5 separate regions of the Homo sapiens genome follow, and all the other regions are linked to region 1. Evidence: promoter capture Hi-C in human tissues and cell types (Jung and others, 2019). All regions are on one chromosome and are shown on one strand. The core of a region is centred on a gene start or on the middle of the fragment in contact, and the rest is flanking DNA. Distances in the headings are between cores, read along the strand shown.

What was found. Contacts are between HindIII fragments. The study calls those that stand out against the background at their distance.
Region 2: a contact is called between the fragment with the promoter of PES1 here and the fragment with the promoter of HORMAD2 in region 1, in 2 of the 25 tissues and cell types used here (adrenal gland and heart left ventricle).
Region 3: a contact is called between the fragment with the promoter of MTFP1 here and the fragment with the promoter of HORMAD2 in region 1, in 1 of the 25 tissues and cell types used here (mesenchymal stem cells).
Region 4: a fragment that was not itself captured here is called in contact with the fragment with the promoter of HORMAD2 in region 1 in 2 of the 25 tissues and cell types used here (liver and spleen).
Region 5: a contact is called between the fragment with the promoter of SF3A1 here and the fragment with the promoter of HORMAD2 in region 1, in 4 of the 25 tissues and cell types used here (IMR-90 fibroblasts, hippocampus, lymphoblastoid cells and 1 more).

The regions. Positions count from the first base shown.
Region 1 is chr22:30,078,554-30,082,328 of GRCh38, reverse strand. It overlaps HORMAD2 (HORMA domain containing 2), which reads right to left and starts at 1,865. Exons shown (of 11, transcript NM_152510.4): 1 at 1,838-1,865. It overlaps HORMAD2-AS1 (HORMAD2 and MTMR3 antisense RNA 1), which reads left to right and starts at 2,072. Exons shown (of 5, transcript NR_110541.2): 1 at 2,072-2,201. RefSeq lists enhancers at 1,795-1,874, 1,712-2,409, 3,584-3,663 and silencers at 2,215-2,264, 3,714-3,775. The HindIII fragment of the contact is 22,926 bases long and covers 1-3,775 here.
Region 2 is chr22:30,589,743-30,593,517 of GRCh38, reverse strand. It overlaps PES1 (pescadillo ribosomal biogenesis factor 1), which reads left to right and starts at 1,608. Exons shown (of 15, transcript NM_014303.4): 1 at 1,608-1,708. The coding sequence starts at 1,685. RefSeq lists enhancers at 986-1,065, 1,286-1,585, 1,065-1,780. The HindIII fragment of the contact is 28,649 bases long and covers 1-3,775 here.
Region 3 is chr22:30,424,121-30,427,895 of GRCh38, reverse strand. MTFP1 (mitochondrial fission process 1) reads right to left here and starts at 2,128. Exons shown (of 4, transcript NM_016498.5): 1 at 1,950-2,128; 2 at 1,052-1,179; 3 at 493-725. The coding sequence starts at 2,016. It overlaps SEC14L2 (SEC14 like lipid binding 2), which reads right to left. Exons shown (of 12, transcript NM_012429.5): 12 at 2,593-3,775. RefSeq lists enhancers at 749-1,309, 1,310-1,868 and a silencer at 3,486-3,595. The HindIII fragment of the contact is 6,033 bases long and covers 1,116-3,775 here.
Region 4 is chr22:29,799,150-29,802,924 of GRCh38, reverse strand. ASCC2 (activating signal cointegrator 1 complex subunit 2) reads left to right here. Exons shown (of 20, transcript NM_032204.5): 14 at 717-931; 15 at 1,815-1,934. Among named protein-coding and RNA genes, the nearest start is that of UQCR10, 34 kb to the right of the region's middle. RefSeq lists enhancers at 1,348-2,343, 3,235-3,735, 3,736-3,775. The HindIII fragment of the contact is 7,164 bases long and covers 1-3,775 here.
Region 5 is chr22:30,355,084-30,358,858 of GRCh38, reverse strand. It overlaps SF3A1 (splicing factor 3a subunit 1), which reads left to right and starts at 1,965. Exons shown (of 16, transcript NM_005877.6): 1 at 1,965-2,129. The coding sequence starts at 2,067. CCDC157 (coiled-coil domain containing 157) reads right to left here and starts at 1,852. Exons shown (of 12, transcript NM_001017437.5): 1 at 1,727-1,852. RefSeq lists an enhancer at 484-1,083 and a silencer at 2,019-2,268. The HindIII fragment of the contact is 21,616 bases long and covers 1-3,775 here.

The sequences.
Region 1 (3,775 bases), core at 616-3,115:
ATCATAGTTGATTTATGAAGGCTCTCTACCCATCTTTCTCAATCTTCAAAAACCGTTTTTTACAAGAAAATCCCTTTTCTATCAGGTGAACACTATCCAATAGCTGGATTCTGAAATGTAACTATATTACCTTCCTTACACATGCATGTTGTTAAGAATGGCTTTACTCAAAAGAAGTGTACGTTAACATAAATGGGTTCAATAGATTCCTAAAGCTGGAAGGGAGCACAGACATCTTCCAACCCCTTTGATTTAAAGAAGATCCAATTCTGTGGAGGAAGAATCTTTTTTTCAGCAAATGATGCTGAAACAAAAGGACATCTGGAGGGTGGGGGGAAGAACAGAGAATTAAAAGAAACTTAACCTAAATCTCACACTGTATACAAATATTAATGCAAAATGGATCATGGATTTAAACCTAAACATAAAACTATAAAGAAAAGGGGCCAGGTGCAGTGGCTCACACCTGTAATCCCAGCACTCTGGGAGGCCGAGGTGGGAGGATCACGAGGTCAAGAGATCGAGACTATCCTGGCCAACATGGTGAAACCCTGTCTCTACTAAAAATAAAAAAAAATAAAAAAATTTAGCTGGGCGTGGTGGTGCACACCTGTAGTCCCAGCTACATGGGAGGCTGAGGCAGGGGAATCGCTTGAACCCGAGAGGTGGAGGTTGCAGTGAGCTGAGATTGCGTCACTGCACTCCAGCCTGGCACAGAGCTCGACTCCATCTCACAAAAAAAAAAGAAAAAAGAAAAGGAAAGTGAGGCTAAGCAAGGGAACTTGGTTTGCCAAAGTTCGCCCAATTACTTAGACCTTCCAACAGAGCTTGCTTCAATAAATTATTCACCATTTTAACAAATTCCATTTGGCCCTGGTAATTCCCCTACCTGTGCTCATTCAGAGAAAATGGCTTCCACTATATTAATTGAGTATTTGTTCATGCTCTTTTGACTTTTTAATATCTTTTTCATGCTATTTCAATTATTCATTCATTCAACATCTACGAGGCAACTACAATGTGCCAGGCAACAACATGCAGGATTACGAGATGTAAAATACTGTTCCTACCTCAACAGATTGATGGTCCAATGGAGGAGAAATTAGATTATGATCCTGCTGAGATTAAAAACCCCTTTAGGGGCCAGAACCACCCCTCATTTCTACCAGCTGAGTACACGATGTACTGCACAGCCTGTCCAGTGCCCTGCGTACTCGGACACATTTTGGCGATTGGCTAATCCTGAGGTTCAAGACTCTCTCCCTCTGTTTAGGGAACTAAAGTCCATAGGGATTAATTGGCAAATCCTCACTAAAGTGAAAGGGGAGCTGAGGTCAAGGGGGGCGGGGTGTCTTGTCCCCACCTCTCTCACCTCTTGGCCTGTACCAGGCATCGATCCTGGCAGAAAACCTCAATGGCTGGGGAGAATCTGACCCAGGTAAGATAAACTTCCCCAAAGCTCCACCACACACGGCCCCCTCCAATGTCGGGCACAGACATCGTCTGCCCTGCCAGCCTCATCATGGCTCATTATGGCTGCTGCTTGCTCAGCAAGTTTGATTTCATGTCCAGAAAAATCTGAATTTCAAAACTACCTGGGTGCTCTCTGTCCAGTTCTGGGGGAAATCGCCTCCCTTTTGCCTTCCTCCTCAGCCCCCTGCCCTCCCGATTCTCTTCACAGTACTTTAGGCCCTCACGAAATATGATACTTTCAAATCCAACTTAAAGCCTTAAGTAATAAGAAAAGAAAAAAAAATTGTTTTTTGACATAAAGACAGAACTAACAACGCCCGAGTGCCCTCTCTGGGCCGAGACCTCGCGTCTCAACAGCCCTCACCTCAGCTCGTCGACGCTTCCCTCCCACCGGGGGTCAACGGCCTTTTCCGGCCCAAACCCGCTCCTCGGCTCATGAATAGTCAACGAGGCCTTTCTGGGCGGGACCAGAGGTTTCCTCATGAATAATTCATGACCCGTCCACGGCTAGCCTGGGCGACCGGCCTCGCTAGACTTCATGAATATGCAAAGCAGGGGCGAACGGCGGCTAGCCGGCCCCTAGCCCGCCCGGCCCCTCAGCAGCCGCCTCTCAGCCACGGGCTGCACACTGACCCGACGCGACCTTCGGTCAGGGGCCGCCAGCCTGGGCCACCTATACAACGACAGCCTGCTCCGGGGCTTCCTGAGGAGGTGCCTGCCCCGCCGAGGTTAGGACCCGAGGGACCGTGGGGCTCGGGCGGGCCAGGACGCCAGGCCGGCGGGTCCCAGAGAGGTCTGAGGCGGGCGCGGGGCGGCGTAGGGGAGGGAAGCGAGAGCCTGGGGGGCCCAGGGACCCGAGTTAGAAGAAGGCCCGAGAAGTGCGGCGCGGTGGCTCCACCTGGGATCCCAGCACTCTGGGAGGCTGAGGCGGGCGCGTCACTTGAGGTCAGGAATTCGAGACCAGCCTGGCCAACATGTTGAAAACCCGTCTCTACAAAAAATACAAAAATTAGCTGGGCGTGGTGGCGCGCGCCTGTAGTCCCAGCTACTTGGGAAGCTGAGGCACGAGAATCGCTTGAGCCCAGGAGGCTGAGGTTGCAGTGAGCCGAGATTCCGCCATTGCACTCCAGCCTGGGCGACAGAGCGAGACTCCGTCTCAAAAAAATTTTAAAAAGTACAAAAATTAGCTGGGCCACCTGACGTGCGCCTGTAGTCCCAGCTGCTCGGGAGGCTGAGGTAGGAGGATCGCTTGAGCCGGGGAGTTTGAGGTTGCAGTGAGCCAAGATCGTACCATTGCACTCCAGCCTGGGCAACAGAGGGAGACCCTGTCTCAAAAATAAAAAAAAAGAAAAGAAAGAAAAAAGACATAAGGCCAGAAGGCCAGAGCTTTCCAATACTTGAGGGCATCTGCAACCTCTTCATCCCTACCCTGGACCTGACTTTGCATTCTTTTTAACATTAATTTGTAATTATGCAAATAAAACATAAATATATTCTCCTTTGTGCCCTACCCCTAATCTCAGTTTTTTCTGCCCTGGTAACTGTGGGAGCAGTTGGGGGTGTGGCTCCTTGGATCGTTTCTCACCTGTTTAGGTAGATATTTCGTATCCTGTGGTGCTTTCCAAAGGCTCCTGGAGTCCCATGAACCTCCCCAAGGGGATTTCCCAAGAGAGTAGATGAAAGAGTGAGCCACTTGAAACCTGTTCTTATTTTGTTTCTGCAGGAAAGAAAAAAAAAACTATTCAAGTTGGCGAGAACATGAGTTTAGAACATAATGACTAAAACTGAAATTTGGGCTGAAATATTCTTTTAGTGCAAGTTTTCTCAACCTTCTCCCCACCCCCACCATCATAACAACCAAAAATTTCTCTAGACTTTGCCAAATGTCCCATGGGGTGTGCAAAATTGCCCTCTGTTGAGAACTACTGCGTTCACCCTATACTTTCCGGAAGTAACTGCTTTTTAAGCTCCAACCACACAGATGGTTTGTCTGCACCAGCCCTTCTCAGCCTCCGCATTTACCAGCCTCTCTGGCTGGATCACTAGGCCCTCTGTGCTGGCTGTTCTAATTTTCTTCTGCCTTCAGATCTGAGCTCAGTCAACTGCTACCATATCCAAAGACTTACCCCTCTCTGCCCTATACTATTGGCAGTCTACCCCACCAGCAAACACAGTTATTCGTTATTCTGTTTCTTTCATAGAATTTCTCTCAATCTAATTTTTTTTTTTTTTTTTTTTTTTTTTTTTTGTGAGACAGAGTCTTGCTCTGTCACCCAGGCTGGAGTGCAGTGGCGTGATATTG
Region 2 (3,775 bases), core at 359-2,858, 510 kb before region 1:
TTCCTTCTTCTTCTTTTTTTTTTTGAGATGGAGCCTCGCTCTGTCGTCTAGGCTTGAGTGCAGAGTGCAGTGGCACAATCTTGGCTCACTGCAACATCTACCTCCTGGGTTCAATAAATTCTCCTGCCTCAGCCTCCCAACTAGCTGGGGTTACAGGTGCCTGCCACCACACCCGGCTAATTTTTGTATTTTTGGTAGAGATGGGTTTTCGCCATGTTGGCCAGGCTGGTCTCAAACTCCTGATCTCAGGTGATCCGCCTGCCTCAGCCTCTCAAAGTGCTGGGATTACAGGTGTGAGCGACCGTGCCCGGCTTCATCTCATTTTTAACTGTGGAATTGCTGGGTTTTAAATTTTAGCTTTAAATTAGATAGTGCAAGTCACATAGTTCAAAACAAGTATTCACCAGTGCTTAACGTCTGTCTCTGTGTAAGTTCTAAGACCAAGTCCTTGGGCCAGGTCACATTCACAAGAGCCTCAAATTTAAACTTTTGAGATCATCTTCGAACGAAATTTGGAATTTGGAAAAAGGGAGAAACGTTTAAAAAAAAAAAAACCTCTTAAAATTGCATCTACTTCCAGACTGCACCATCTCAAGGTGATGTGACTATTTGTATAAATCTTGGAATTATTATTTGAGGAACACTTACAGAATTTATGTGTACAAATTAAAAGCTCGAATATGTTGAATGTACATTTAATTTTATTTATTTATTTATTTTTGAGATGGAGTCTCACTCTGTCGCCCAGGCTGGAGTGCAGTGGCAAGATCTCGGCTCACTGCAACCTCTGCCTCCCAGGTTCAAGCGATTCTCCTGCGTCAGCCTCCCGAGTAGCTGGGATTACAGGCGTGTGCCACCATGGCCAGCTAATTTTTGTATTTTTAGCAGAGACGGGGTTTCACTATATTGGTCACACTGGTCTCGAACTCCTGACCTCAGATGATCCGCCTGTCTTGGCCTCCCAAAGTGCTGGGATTACAGGCGTGCGCCACCGCTCCCAGCCTTGAATGTACATTTTAAATATACCACGAGTCCACCACTAAGGCTCAGAAAATATAAGTGGCCTCTAGGATCTCTATACCTCCGCGAGGAAAAATGTCTTCCTTTTTTCTATTTTAGCCGCATAACCGCGAATGAACCAAAGAGAACCCGAAGCCGGTGGGAACTCAGCGCAGTCTCACCCTGCCCCTCGGGAACCGCTTCTCAGCAGCGGCAGCCGAAGTCTGACGACGCTTAGCAACCGTTACCTTGACAACGCAATCCTATCGCGCACCATGGAGTGCGGCGCCCCTCTGCATCCCAGAAGGCACCGCGCTGTCCCTAAGCCTTCCGCCCCTCTCCGTCCCAACATGCAACGAGGCTCACAGTCAATGAATCGTCATCAGGGTGATTACAGAAAAGCCTGTATATCCACGTTTGTTTTAACACTTAAAGTGTTTGTAACCATTGTGAGCGGGAAAGATCTGGAAAGAGTGTTCTCAGTGATTTTTTTCAGACTATAGTTTTAAATCTTGAGGAGGAAATCCCCATCTTTCCCTGGACTTGTACAGGCATCTCATTGGGCAGCCCGCACAAACAGACAGCGTGGGGTGGGGAGGGTCCTCGGGGTCCTTGGCAGGGCACGTGCGGGAGGAAGTGGAGCTCCCTGTACGCGCGGCCCTAGTCGGCTCCTCAACGTGGAGCGATGGGAGGCCTTGAGAAGAAGAAGGTGATTGGGAAAGACGGTGGGGATTCCCGAGGGGTGGGGTGCGGGGGCGGCAGAGCATGGGGTCGACTCTTTTCCCGGGCTCCGTCTCGTGGAGACTGGAAAGACGGGATCGACGTGACCGTAATCAGCTGCGAGAAGGGGTCCGAGAATGGACAAGGATGGCAGTATTCGTTTAGTGAAATCCGAGAACGAACTCCAGAGTTCTTTCTGTGGAGAGGGCTGTGAAAGAGAGTTGAACTTACCAAGCGTAGCTTCATTCCAAAAGCAGGCCGAGCCGTGGGACCACTATTTACCGAAAGGGTGATAAACATTACGTAGAGCTCACCGTTACTGCACCGTTACATTAGTTGGTTAGTGTTGTCTTGGAAGTTCTCTTCGAGGCATAACATTTCGGCTGAAATGGGAAAGATCAGAACGTCTTGGATGGGTTCTGGGGCATGGGAGTGCTTAGCGAGCAGGCCTGACAAGGGAAACCAAGTGCCAAGATCAGTAGGCAGGGAAGGCTTGCTGTGTGTAAGGAGTTGGAAGGACATTAGGATGACTCGCATGTAAACCAAGAAAAGAATGGCATCTGATAAGATTGGGGTTGGACACGTACTGTATCGTGCAAGGCCTGTAAGCTTGGATTTTATTCTAAGTGCAGTAGGAATAGTGTAGAGCTTGGATTTTATTCTACGTGCAGTAGGAAAAAAAGGAGGAGTAACACGATTAGAGTTTTTCAGGGAGTTCTTGTGGCTGTATGGAGAATCGGCCCAGTGACATGAAAAGACTGGGAAGGGAATGGGAATGAGGAATATATAGTTGGCTTAAGTGTTTCTTTCAGAGTGAAAGTTTCTATTGCCAGTGTTCTTAACCCAACACACTACATTGAGTATCCAGTGCTAGCCATCGGAACTGCAAAGATACAAGATGGAAAACCTGCCCTTGAGTTGCAGATGTAGATATGTAACAAAATCGTTACAGTTTTTAAAAGCTGGGTTTCAGAGCCAGAATCAACAAAGATGAGTCTTTGTTGTGGGAAGGATTGTCTTGTGTGTAGTAGGATATTTGGCAACATCCCTGATCCTTTACCTACTGGATACCAGTAGCACCCAGCAACCAAAAATGTCTCCAAACATTGCTGAACTCTCCTCCCCCCAGCACATACCCAGGGAGTACCCCATTGAGAACTATTTATTCCCTTAACATTTATAAGGATAAGCATGGTGACAGAGATAAGTGTGGCATAAGGTAATGGAAAACGCTATAAATGAAAACTCAACTTCTTAAGGCAGTCTGAAACTCATCTTTATACCTCCAAGACTTAGCATGGGCCTAATACCTAATAGACAATTAATGTCTAAAGGAAAGAATGAATGAAGGGTATGTTTCATGACTATGATGTTATTAGTAAACGTACCTGTGGGAGACTAACAGGTTTGTCTCTTTAGAGCTGAACCTAGCCAAAGAGGCCCCTGCTGTCTTAGTCCAGAGGAAGATCTTGTTTGGAAACGACATGCTTGTTAGCTTGCAGGGTATTTGTTACAGTGCACTGATTGTCTCTATCGAGGGATACAGAAGTGTGAGGGATACAGAAATGTGGGTGTGAGGCAGCATCTTAGCACCACAGGCATCCAGATGGTTATACAAGACAATAGGCTTCTTAGGGGCAGGTAGAGACCAGGCTTTTTGTCTTTATTGCCTTCATAGCATCTAGCTTAGTGCTTTGACCATAATAGAGGACCTGTTATTGTCTGTTGAATGAATGAATGAGGAAGGGGAGAAGCTGTGTGGCTTAGAGCATGCTTTTTCAGCCAGGGTAATACCACCCTCAAGGGAACAAAATTGGTTGAGGGGCAGTATCTTAGCTATTACAATGGTTGTGGCTCCCCAAGGACTACATTACATAAACAGACCTACAGTATATCTCTGGTATTAACATTTTATGGGGCATAGGGAAGAAAGGGTGATGGGTGAGGGAGGAAGGGGGTGTCTAATAAGTCTCCTGGTAGTGGTGAAGAGGTTATAATGAGGAAGAAAAGAAGGGGAAAAGATTAGGAACACTGGCTTAGCTATTAGGCATTCAGG
Region 3 (3,775 bases), core at 879-3,378, 350 kb before region 1:
GTGGGGTGGGGAGAAAGGCAGCAGGATGGGGAGACCCAGACCCCTAATGACATAATTTGGGTACCTAGATCTAGCCATGCCTGAATGCAACACAGCCCTGGACTTTTACTCCATTTTATTCAAATATTCAGTTTGAGTTAGGCTTCTGTCACCAATACCTCCCAAAATGCATCCCCTCTAGGGTGCACCTGCTCCTGCTTCTCTCTGGTTGTTTTGTAACACTAGACTTTCTTTCTGGGAATTTACTTGTCCTGTGTCCCATACCCTCAACGCACCCCTCTTCTTTTATTGCTAAAGTGCCTGCCATACCATATGACAAGGGTACAGGCTGTCCTTTCTAACCCAGGAGCCAAGTGCCAGCCTTGTCCCTGCTATTGCTCCAGCAAAGTGGGCATACCCCACACTTCACAGAGTCTAGCTCTACCTGGAGACTGGATGATCCACTCTCATCACTGGAGAGTGGATGATCCCTGAGGCCAAGAAGGTACCCACCTGTCAATGGGGTGGATAATGATGGGGATGGTCAACAGCCCAAGCGCGGTGGTGGTCCACTTGCGGACAGCCAGGGGCCAGCGGGTGGCAGTGCCCAGGACATAGAGAGAGGCAGCACACACGCGGTTGATGGTGAAGCCCGGAATGGCCACAGAGGCTAGAGCCTGCCATACAAAGGTGTCCACCACAGCCACAGTCACCCTGGCGCTGCGGCCTGCTTCAGGGCTGGGCACCTGGTGGGCGCAGAGACACTTAATCCAGCTGGGGCAGAGGCAGAAAATCCTGCGACAAGGGGCACGAGGCTAGACCGGGAGGGGCAAGTGGCCAGTGGACTTGTCCGCACCCAGGAGTGGGGTACAGTCTGCCACATCCAGTTCGGGGAGTGGGAGTGTGGGGGCAGGGGTACACTGTCCTACAAACAGGACTGTCTATGGACTGCACTAGGCAAGGTTGTAGGGACTGGAGTGTCCCACAGGGACTTTATCACATGCAAGGCTGTGGACTGAACCACACAAGAAGAGAGCTAGGGTTGGGGGTTGGAAAATAGGCTAACACTCACCTCTCCAGCCTTCTTGCCTTTGTCAATGGCATCCGCCAGCACGTAGGAGCTGGCCACGCCATAGCTCAGCCACACCACCGCCGCTGGCACAAGAGAGCGGAAAGCCTCGCCCACCTCATTGGCATAGCCTGGGGGAGGGAACATTTAATTCCTAGGCTCGCAACTGTTCCACGAGGGGGCGTTGGAGCAGGCTGGTTCTCATCCTAGCCAGCTAAGCAGTCCCTGGGTGACCTTAGGCAAGTGACTTGACCTCTCTGAGCCTCCCTTTCCGAGATGTAAACTGGTGCCATGATGCCCACCTCGGACTCGGGCCACTGAGGGCGGACTGAGCACTGAGTCACTGTTACCATTGCTTATTGGTTAGATTTCCTGGTCTTGGTCCCAGGAGTAACTGCACTAATGAGGTGACAGGCACCCAGAGGGGCAGAGTGATCGAGGGCAGCGCCACTGACCAGACGCTCGCCAAGTGCCAGGGCTTTCTGCGCTTTATCCCATTCCACCCTCGCAACCACCACCCAATGAGAGAGGCCCTCGTGTGTATCTCGTTTGTTTTTTGTTTTGTTTTTGTTTTTTTGCCGAGGAGGAAACTGAGGTTCAGACAGAGCCAGTGCGTGTCAGGACCGAAATGGGAGTGGAGATCCCGACTCCACAGCCAGCCAGAGCGCATGCCAGAGCGGGCAGCCCGCTCACCCCATGGGAGCTTCCGCCCTGGGCGACCCACCAGGGTAGTGTGACCTTGGGCAAGTCCCTAGCCCTGTCTGAGCCCAGTCTCCGGCCCAAAAGCAGAATGAGAACTAAGATCATCCCGCCTCCTCCAGGCCCCGGGCGGGCGTCCGGCGACCCCTGCTTCTCCAGCCCAGTGGTGGTGGGGTCGCCGCGCCCGTCGCCCCGCGCTCACCCAGGTATCGCACCCACGTGTCCCGGTAGAGATCGCGCTCTGCGCCCCGCGGCTGCGGCTCTGACATGACTCTCCCGCCACGGCCCCGGCCACTACAGCCGGTACTGGCTCCACTGCAGTCTCCGCCGCCGGCACTTGGGTCTGCCCGGCCGGGACCCGCCGAAAGTCCCGCGCCGAAGGACAGGTCAGGAAATCTCCGCCAGCAGGGAGCGTCTGCAAATTCCCCCCGCGCACCGAAGCCCCTCTCCCAGGCTCGGGTTTTACAGACTGGTTTTCGTCACGTTTTCTCTGAGCTGTTGGCGCTAATCGCTCCCAGGACTGAGTGTAGGTTTTGGAGCCAAAGAGACAGGGGATCAAGTTGGGGGATGCTACACTGCAAAGCTTGTGACCTCGGGCTTATCCAGCATCTCTTTATTCATTTGTAAAAACGAGGGAGGGACACAGGCTGGGCCCGTTGGCTCACGCCTGTGATCCCAGCACTTTGGGAGGCCGGAGGCGGGAAGATCTCTTGAGCCCAAGGGTTCGAGAACAGCCTGGACAACATAGCGAGACCTCGTCTCTACTAAAAAAAAAAAAAAAAAATTAATGTAATAAATAAAATGGGGAACACAATAGTGTCCACTCCCTAGGATGGTTCCGAGGATTAATTATAACAGTCACCATTTATTGAGTTTATTGCCAGTCTACATGTTCGCTAAAGGACTCTCCATGTCTTACACCTGAAACCCTCCCACCAGCCTGGGAGCCCGTTTTACAGGTGAGAAAATGGAGGCACAGAGAAGGTGGGTCATTTTCCCAGAACACACAGCTGCTAAGTGGTGAAGTTGTGATTTGAATCCAAACAGTGTGGATCCAGATCCCGTGCTCTTAATGCGAGCTCTAAATGAGGCTAGAGGAGTGAACGGTGAGCCCCTGGGAGGTAGGTGCCTGGACTCTGGAGTCCCTTCTCAGCAGTCGCCATGTATAACTAGGAAGCACTCGCATTTAACTGGATCAGTATGTCCCCAGACTGAGCTTCTTGGGGACAGGATGTTGGATGAATTAATTAACGAATGAATGAATCGGGCAAGGGAGACAGAGTTGGGGTTAGTGATTACAACAGGAGGAAGCCTTCCCCCGCTGGACCTCAGTTCACCCAGGTGAGCAATGTGTGCACTTCACTAAGTCTCTGTGACTCCTTGGCGGGTATAATTGAGCGGCGTTGGAGACAATCCTGGGTTCAAATCCTAGCTGTGCCGCCTACTGGCTGTTAGCCTCCCTGAGCCCCAGTTCCCACGTCTGCAAAAAAAATGAGAGTAGCCAACATTGACGAGCACTTACTTATACCAAGCTCTTAAGCGCTTTGCACGGCTTATTTCCTTTAATCTTTGCAACAACCCAAAGTGTAATAGTAAGCACAGGGTTTTTGCGTGATACCCGGTAGGCCTTATTAAGAATTAGCTCTTATTTTCATCAAAGGTAGAGAAAATGAGTAACTATTGAGGCCCCCGCTGGCTCCCTACGGAGGCCCCCGCTTTCAGCCCTAGGCGCCTCTGTCTTGTAGGGCTGTATAGGACAGTCCGGTCAGCAGTTACCTCAAGCTGAGCTGGGCTTGTAGGTTGGGGAGGGTGGTGGGTGGGAGAAAAGTTGATGGGGAACGCAGCGGTTCCCACCCCCTGAAACACCGGCAATGCTGGCGTGGAATTATTAGACAGTCCCTAAAACCACGTGATCGCTGCTCCTCCGCCTCCCTCTCATTCTGGGCCCAGTGCTAGCTCCGCAGGCGCTCGCCCGGACTCACACTTGGCTCGCACGGGCTACGCGGCACGTACTGAGCAGCTGGCGGG
Region 4 (3,775 bases), core at 1-2,500, 280 kb after region 1:
TTGCTCTGTCACCCAGGCTGGAGTGCAGTGGCTTGATCAAGCTCACTGCAGCCTCGACCTTCTGGGATCAAGTAATCCTCCCACCTCAGCCTCCTAAGTAGCTGGGACCACAGGCGCATGCCACCACGCCTGGCTAATTTTTTTAGTAGAGACAGGGTTTCACTGTGTTGCCCAGGCTGGTCTCAAACTCCTGAGCTCAGGCAGTCCACCCGTCTCGGCCTCCCAAAGTGCTAGGATTACAGGCATGAGCCACCACACCCGGCCACCTGGCTACTTTTTTAAATTTTTTGAACAGATGGGGTCTTGCTGTGTTGCTCAGGCTGGTCTAACTCCTGAGCTCAAGTAATTCTCTTGCCTCAGCCTCCCAAAGTGCTGGGATTATAGGTATGAGCCACTGTACCCGGCCTTAAATTTTTTTTATTTTTTTTTTTTGTTTATTTTCCTGGATATGTAGTAGGTGTATATATTTATAGGTTACATGAGATATTTTGATACAGGCATGCAATAATCATAACAATCACGAGCCCCCTTTTTCACAGAGAAGGAAATGGAGGCTCAGAGAGACTTGAGTCACTTGACAAAGTTCCCACAGGCAGGAGGGGTAATCCCAGGACTTGAACCAGATCCCTGATGCCTAGTCCAGTGCTGTCTGGGGCCTGTGGCCCTATCACCGGCCCACTTAGCCTTCCCCTTCTTGGCTCTGGCTCTCACTACAGTGCATGGGAGCAGCCGCGGCTGTGGGCCCTGCCATGTGTGGGGTGGAACTGGACTCTCTCATCTCCCAAGTGAAGGACCTGCTGCCAGACCTTGGTGAGGGCTTCATCCTGGCCTGCCTGGAGTACTACCACTACGACCCAGAGCAGGTGATCAACAATATCCTGGAGGAGCGGCTGGCCCCCACCCTCAGCCAGCTGGACCGCAACCTAGACAGGTGGGAGAGACAGGTGGGAGGAGGCTCCCGCTGCCCAGGCTGCCTCGGGGTGGGGCCCCTTCCTCTCTTCCTTCCCTCATTCATGGCCCAGGACTCAGCTTGTTCTCTCTTCCCAGCCATTTAAACTAAAGCCCTCTTTGGGGAAACATAAAAACCTTAGGCCCCGCAGGAGTTTTTCACTTGCCCCAGGCAGGGCAGAGAGTGTACACATCCCTGCCACACTTTGTGGGAAGGCTGATTAGAGCGCCATGGATGTGTCTTCAGGGATGTAACACAGGGTTGTTGAGCCCTTCTGATCCCCTACATTCCTGACCTGCCCCTGTCATTACGACCTTCCCAGTAGATTTGTGAGAGAGGATGGCCACAGCGTCTCACTTTCATCACACCTACCATTTATTTGGCCCACTGCTGCCCTGAAGGCCCCATGGGACAGCAGGAACCAGTGCCCGAAAGGGTGTTTCTTCCATGAGCAAGTGATGTTTACCAATCACTTGTTAACTTGAGAAATTAGCTTTGTGCCTTTGGACAAGTTCCTCAGCCTCTGAGGCACAATGAGGTTGAGTGATCTGTGACTACTGATCTTATGCGACTATTACGAGCATTAAATGTGGGATAGCGCTTTTAAGAAACAGAAGGAAACCCTGTGTGAATGGCATGCAGAGAATGAGGGGGAGCTTTGTTTGAGGTGTGGCTGCATACCCAGGCAGAGGCCAGATCAGGCAGCAGCTTATCTCCCTCTTCAAGGTTTTGAGATTGTGTCCTAGGAGTGCCTGTTGAAGGGAACTGAAAAATCCGATGGATTTAATACAGCAGGGGGAAGTGGGGTGCAGATTGCATCAGCTGGCAGGGCCCCCTTAAATTGATCTCTGTGTCCCCCACCCAGAGAAATGAAACCAGACCCTACACCCCTGCTGACGTCTCGCCACAACGTCTTCCAGAATGACGAGTTTGATGTGTTCAGCAGGGACTCAGTAGACCTGAGCCGGGTGCACAAGGGCAAGAGGTGAGTGCAGTGGGCCATGGGGTTCCGATACCCCAACTCTGGAAGTGCAGAGAGGACACAGGGAAACCAAGGGCTCCATCTTCGCAGAATTGGCCATGGAGTATCAGCACAGGGATCCCTTCACAACCCTAGACCTGTGCACCCCCAGTGGTTAGGAGCAGGTTCTCTACTGATCAGGCTTCAGGTTCTGACTCTGTGCAGGGAGGCTGTTAGTGAATCCCCCCTGTTGATAGCAAAAGGCCAGAAGGGCCAAAACTATCCCCCTCTTCCCTTCTTCTTACATCTTTTAATGTGTTAACCATCAAATCACTGGTGGACAGTGCTTCCCAGAAACCACTCTTTGACCTGATTTTCCCCAGGCTGTGAGAAAATTAAGGACTTTGAATGAGCTTTTCAGAAGGTGAACATATTCCACTTTAAGGCCTTTCTATTTATTTTTAGTTTATGTCCTTCCTACTTTTTTGGCATTGAAAATTCCGTTCATGATTTATCCATTTATTCAACAAATATTTGTCTAATACTTACAGCATTCTAGGCTCTGGATTAATTAGGTTCTGGGGATATAGTGGGGAGTGAAACAGACACGGCCCCTGCCCACGTGGAGTTTGCATTAATCAACTCATCAAACAAGCAACATCAAATTGCAGGTATAACAAATACTACAAGCTGGAGGTGCACAGAATTCTGAGCCTTTGGTAGGGCTTCACCCCAGTCAAGAAGGCTCCTCTGAGAACATGACATGGGACCGAGAGCTAAAGGGTGAGGAGGGGTCACTTCTGCAAAGGAGGGAAGGAGAAGCTTCCCAAGCAGAGCAACAGGGACAGTGGTCCCGAGGCCATAGTGAGCACAGCAAAGGGTCCCATGAACCGACAAAGCCAGCATATTTTATGTTTTGAAAAGATCAGGGCTGGGTGCAGCGGCTCATGCCTAGTCCCAGCACTTTGGGAGGCCAAGGCAGGTGGATCACTTGAGTCCAGGAGTTCGAGACCAGCCTGGGCAACATAGCGAAACCCCATATATACAAAAAATACAAAAATTAGCCGGGTGTGCTGGCACACGCCTATAGTTCCAGCTACTCTGGAGGCTGAGGCAGTAAGATCACTTAAGCCCAGGAGGTCAAGGCTGCAATGAGCTGTGATCGTGCCACTGTACTCCAGCCTGGGTGACACAGTAAGAACCTGTCTCAAGAAAAAAAAATAAGAGAGTTCACCCAGCGTTGGAATGATGACCCATCAGAGGGACAGAGAGTTGGATGTCATGGTAAAGAGTACAACATCCAAGTAGAGAACAGCAAAATAAGATGTATTCTAGTCCCCCAAAGTTCTGCATGGAATCTAGAAATCAGGGGACTTCTTTACAAGTACAGGCTGCTCTTTCACCATCACGTGAATGGGGACCGTGAGGTTCAGAGAGGGAGGAGACCAGCCAGCCTTGTTCCTGTGGTAGGAGCCCCAGTGGCGGAAATGCCAGCTGCTTCTTCAGTTAGGGCCCTGTGCTGTTACCCCTCCCTAGGGCTGTCCACTGCTAAAAGCTTGGCTGGCTGAGGGCTTGGGGAACTGGCGCAGGGCAACTACAAAGCCGTCTGGCTGGCTGGACAGGAAGCACTTGCAAACTGCTTAGTCATACACATTGCAACACCCCCAGATCCCAGGCCAAAGATGTTATCCTGGATCAGTGGCCGCTATTCCAGGCCAGCATGGCCCTCTGTAGCTCCAGCGGTGGGCAAGGGGCAGACAAGGGGTCCTCCAGGCTGGCGAGAAGCCTGGCCCCCTGCTCCAATCCAGGAAGCCTGATTGGTAAGTTCCCCACAGAGATTAGCCATCTCTGGATATGGCCTTTCA
Region 5 (3,775 bases), core at 716-3,215, 280 kb before region 1:
CTGCAATTCCTGGGTCTTGAGTGGAACCCTCAGTCTGAAGCTGCCAGCCCGGCACTGTACCCATGACCACATAGGTGACAGCACTAATTGAGCCCTTAGGGAGGAGCAGCAGCTATCTCTGCCTCTCCTCAATTTCCTGGGGCTCAAGGTGGACTTTTGACTCCCAGAGAAGAGCAGGAGCCTTTCCTGCATTTCCGTTCAACATTCAAGCGCCTTCTCTCTCTCAGAACTAGTACCCTAACCCTACTCGGTAAAGATGATGCCTACTTCCCAGCCAGGGTGCCTGGTGAGATTCAAAGCCACCACCATGAAAACACGGGAAACTCTAAAACCAGCTATGTGGCAGATGTCAGTCTCAAACATGAGATTGTTAATTGCCTGGATCCCTGGGGATACTGAAGGGACTGAGGGCAAAATAACTAACTGCACTAGTAGAGGAATAAGACTGGCTTGAACTTGCATTCCCACTCTACCAACTCCAAACTTCACTGTCCTCATTTGTAAATAGGTTGCTATAAGGAATAAATGACGTAACACATGAAGTGTTGGGCACAGTATCCGGCTCATAGTAAATGACCAATACATCCCAGCTATCATTATTCTACATTAATAACAACCATGACACACAGCTACGATGTGTGTGGGGGGAGGGGGAAGACTTGAGAGAGCAACCTTTCCTATCACTCCCTCATTTCACAGGTGAGGAAACTGAAGTCCAGGAACAGGTTCGGAGCCAGCTCCCCGCTTTCCAGAGTTGAGGAGAGGAGGAAGGAGAGAGGGGGGAATCGCAGGAGAGGGAGAGAAGCCGGCGGGATTCGAGGTAGGCCTCTGGGGAGCGAGCCGCATAGCTTGCAGGGCTGCATCTGTGAGAGTGAGGGGTGAAGCCTAAAGCAGCAGCCCTGCGTGATGGCTCATGCGTGTAATCCCAGCACTTTGGGAGGCCAAGGCGGGAGGATCGCTTGACCCCAGGAGTTTGAGACCAGCCTGGGCAACATAGGGAGACGTCCTCCCATGTCCCTACAAAAAAAAAAATTTAAAAACTGGCCGGGCGCGGTGGCTCACGCCTGTAACCCTAACACTTTGGGAAGCCGAGGCGGGCGGATCATTTGAGGTCAGGAGTTCCAGACCAGCCTGGCCAGCATGGTGAAACCCCGTCTCTACTAAAAATGCCAAAAAAAAAAAAAAAAAAATTAGCCGGGTGTGGTGGGCGCCTGTAGTCCCAGCCACTCGGGAGGCTGAGGCAGGAGAATCGCTTGAACTCGGGAGGCGGAGGTTGCAGAGAGTCAAGATCGCGCCACTGCACTCCAGCCTGGGTGACAGAGCAAGACCTTGTCTCAGAAAAAAAGAAAAAAGAAAGACAAAGAAAGCAGCAGCCTTGATTTGAGAGGGAGGCCCCCAGTGGGGCTTGAGGGCGGGACTACGGAAGGCAGGGGATGGAAGCAAGAAAAGGCAGGTTCCGTGGGAAAAGCGAATTAAGGGCGTAGGATTTGGAAGCGGGGCTTGGAGGATGTGGGTCTGAAATGAAAGGGGGGACTAAGGGAGTAGGGAAGTGGGGCTCTTAGGCGGTGAGCCTGAGGGGACAGGGGCTCTCCTAAATGAGAGACCAATGGGAGGGAGCTGGGCTCTTGGAAGGCGGGGTCGAAGGGAGCGAGGTACTGGCCTGTGGAGTAAAGGAGCCGCGAGGTGAGTGCGGCGGGGGTCCGGCGGGTGACGTACAACATCTCACCTGTCTTCGGCGTCGCGGCTTCAGCCTTCGTGTCTGGTCGGCTCCCGGAACTGCCCCCGGTGCGCCTGCGGCCACCGGGATCCCCGAAAAGCCCTAGCCGGGCGCTCAGGCCGCTGCCTTGGCAACGGCGTCGGACGCCGCGGTGCCCGCGGGGAGGGGCGGGAAGCGCGTCACGGCGAGGGGACGGTCCCGGAAGTGCGCCAGTCGTACCTTCGCGGCCGCAACTCGCTCGGCCGCCGCCATCTTGCGAGCTCGTCGTACTGACCGAGCGGGGAGGCTGTCTTGAGGCGGCACCGCTCACCGACACCGAGGCGGACTGGCAGCCCTGAGCGTCGCAGTCATGCCGGCCGGACCCGTGCAGGCGGTGCCCCCGCCGCCGCCCGTGCCCACGGAGCCCAAACAGGTACCTCTCCCCCGCCCCTCAGCCTGCAGCCGGAGGGTTGGCCTGGGCGCTCCTTACTCGCACAGGAATAAGCGGCCGGCCGCTATGAAGGGCTTGGAGGGACTGCAAGTCCCAAGAGGCTGCGCGCTTCCCGCGCTATGGTGGTGTTCTGGTAGCGAAATGAGCCACCCTGAACGGGATTCTCTAAGTGGTCCGCGGAGCAGCCCCGTCGGCACGAGCCGGGAGCTTCTTAGAAATGTGGAGTCTCCGCCGTAGATCTTTTAAATAGGAATCTACATTTGAACAAAATCCTAAGGTGATTGATTTATAAGTGCGAGAGGCGCTGATCCAGCCCATCCTCTGATCTTATGTAGCAGTTGGGGCCGCCGGCCACAGCCTTTCCCCAGTAATGGCTAATTTCCCAGCCTGCACGGTACATCTTTGGATGTTAATTCTCAGCATCTATTTCGGTGTCTGCCCCAAGCCAGACACCGTGCCAGGCTCCCACATTACCGGAATGAATGGGGCATGGTCCCTGCCTAGGGAGCTCACAGGCTAACGAGAAGACAGACATATGAGAATGCTCACCAAATGTTTGTTGTCCCAATGGCCATCGATGATACAGTGCCAGCCCGCCCTTAATAAAGCTCTCCAATCTCGAATGTGCACAAACCATTGTAGTATGGTGTGATATGCCCTGTGATAGAAGTTTCAGGTACAAATCTAATGAACATTGTTTGCTGGGCTAGAAGGGATATTAAGGTAGGGAAGCCCACAAGAGTGAGAGGTAAATTTCTTTTAGAAGAAGGAATAGGAGTTTGCCAGGTAGGTGACTAGGGAAGGGAAATAGCATCCTTTATTCATCCAGCAAATATTTATTGAACACATACGCTGATCATTGCTTTGGGTTCAGAATAAGGGGGGCGGGGGGGGGGAACATGACTGAAGAAGCCATGCCTTTTCCACAAATATTTAAGTGCCCGTGTGTCCCTGGCATTTTCCCAGGCATTGGGGGAAAATAAGGTAATAGCCAGATAATATGCGCAAAGACACCGAGGTGAATCAAACGGTGTCTCTGATCAAGAGTAAATGAACAAGTGTTGAAGCATAGACTTAGGAGCGTAGTGGCAGGAGATGCGATTCTTACTTAGGATTTGAACTTTTCCTTGTAGACAGTGGGAAGAAAAGGGAGTGTTTTAAGCCAAATAGTGACATTTGTGTTTCAGAAATTCAGGTAGGCAGACGTGTGGAGAATCACTATGAGGGGAGGCCAGTCACGCTATTCCAAAGAGGCTGAAGGCCTGGCCGAGATTAGGGCAGAGGGGGTAGGCAGGCTCTTCAGCCAGAGTGGTGTGTTAGAATCCTGGTTCTGCCAGTTGGACATTAAGCTCTCCATCTCTCAGTTTTGTCATCTGTAATGTGGAGATATTAAGAGTTCTTGGCCGGGTCCAGTGGCTCACGCCTGTAATTCCAGCAGTTTGGGAGGCCGAGGCAGACAGATCACTTGAGGTCAGGAGTTTGAGACCAGCCTGGCCAACATAGCAAAACTGTCTCTACTAAAAATAAAAAATTAGCCAGGTGTGGTGGTGCATGTTTGTAATCCCCACTATTCGGGAGAGAATTGCTTGAACCTGGGAAGCAGAAGTTGCAATGAGCCAAGATCATGC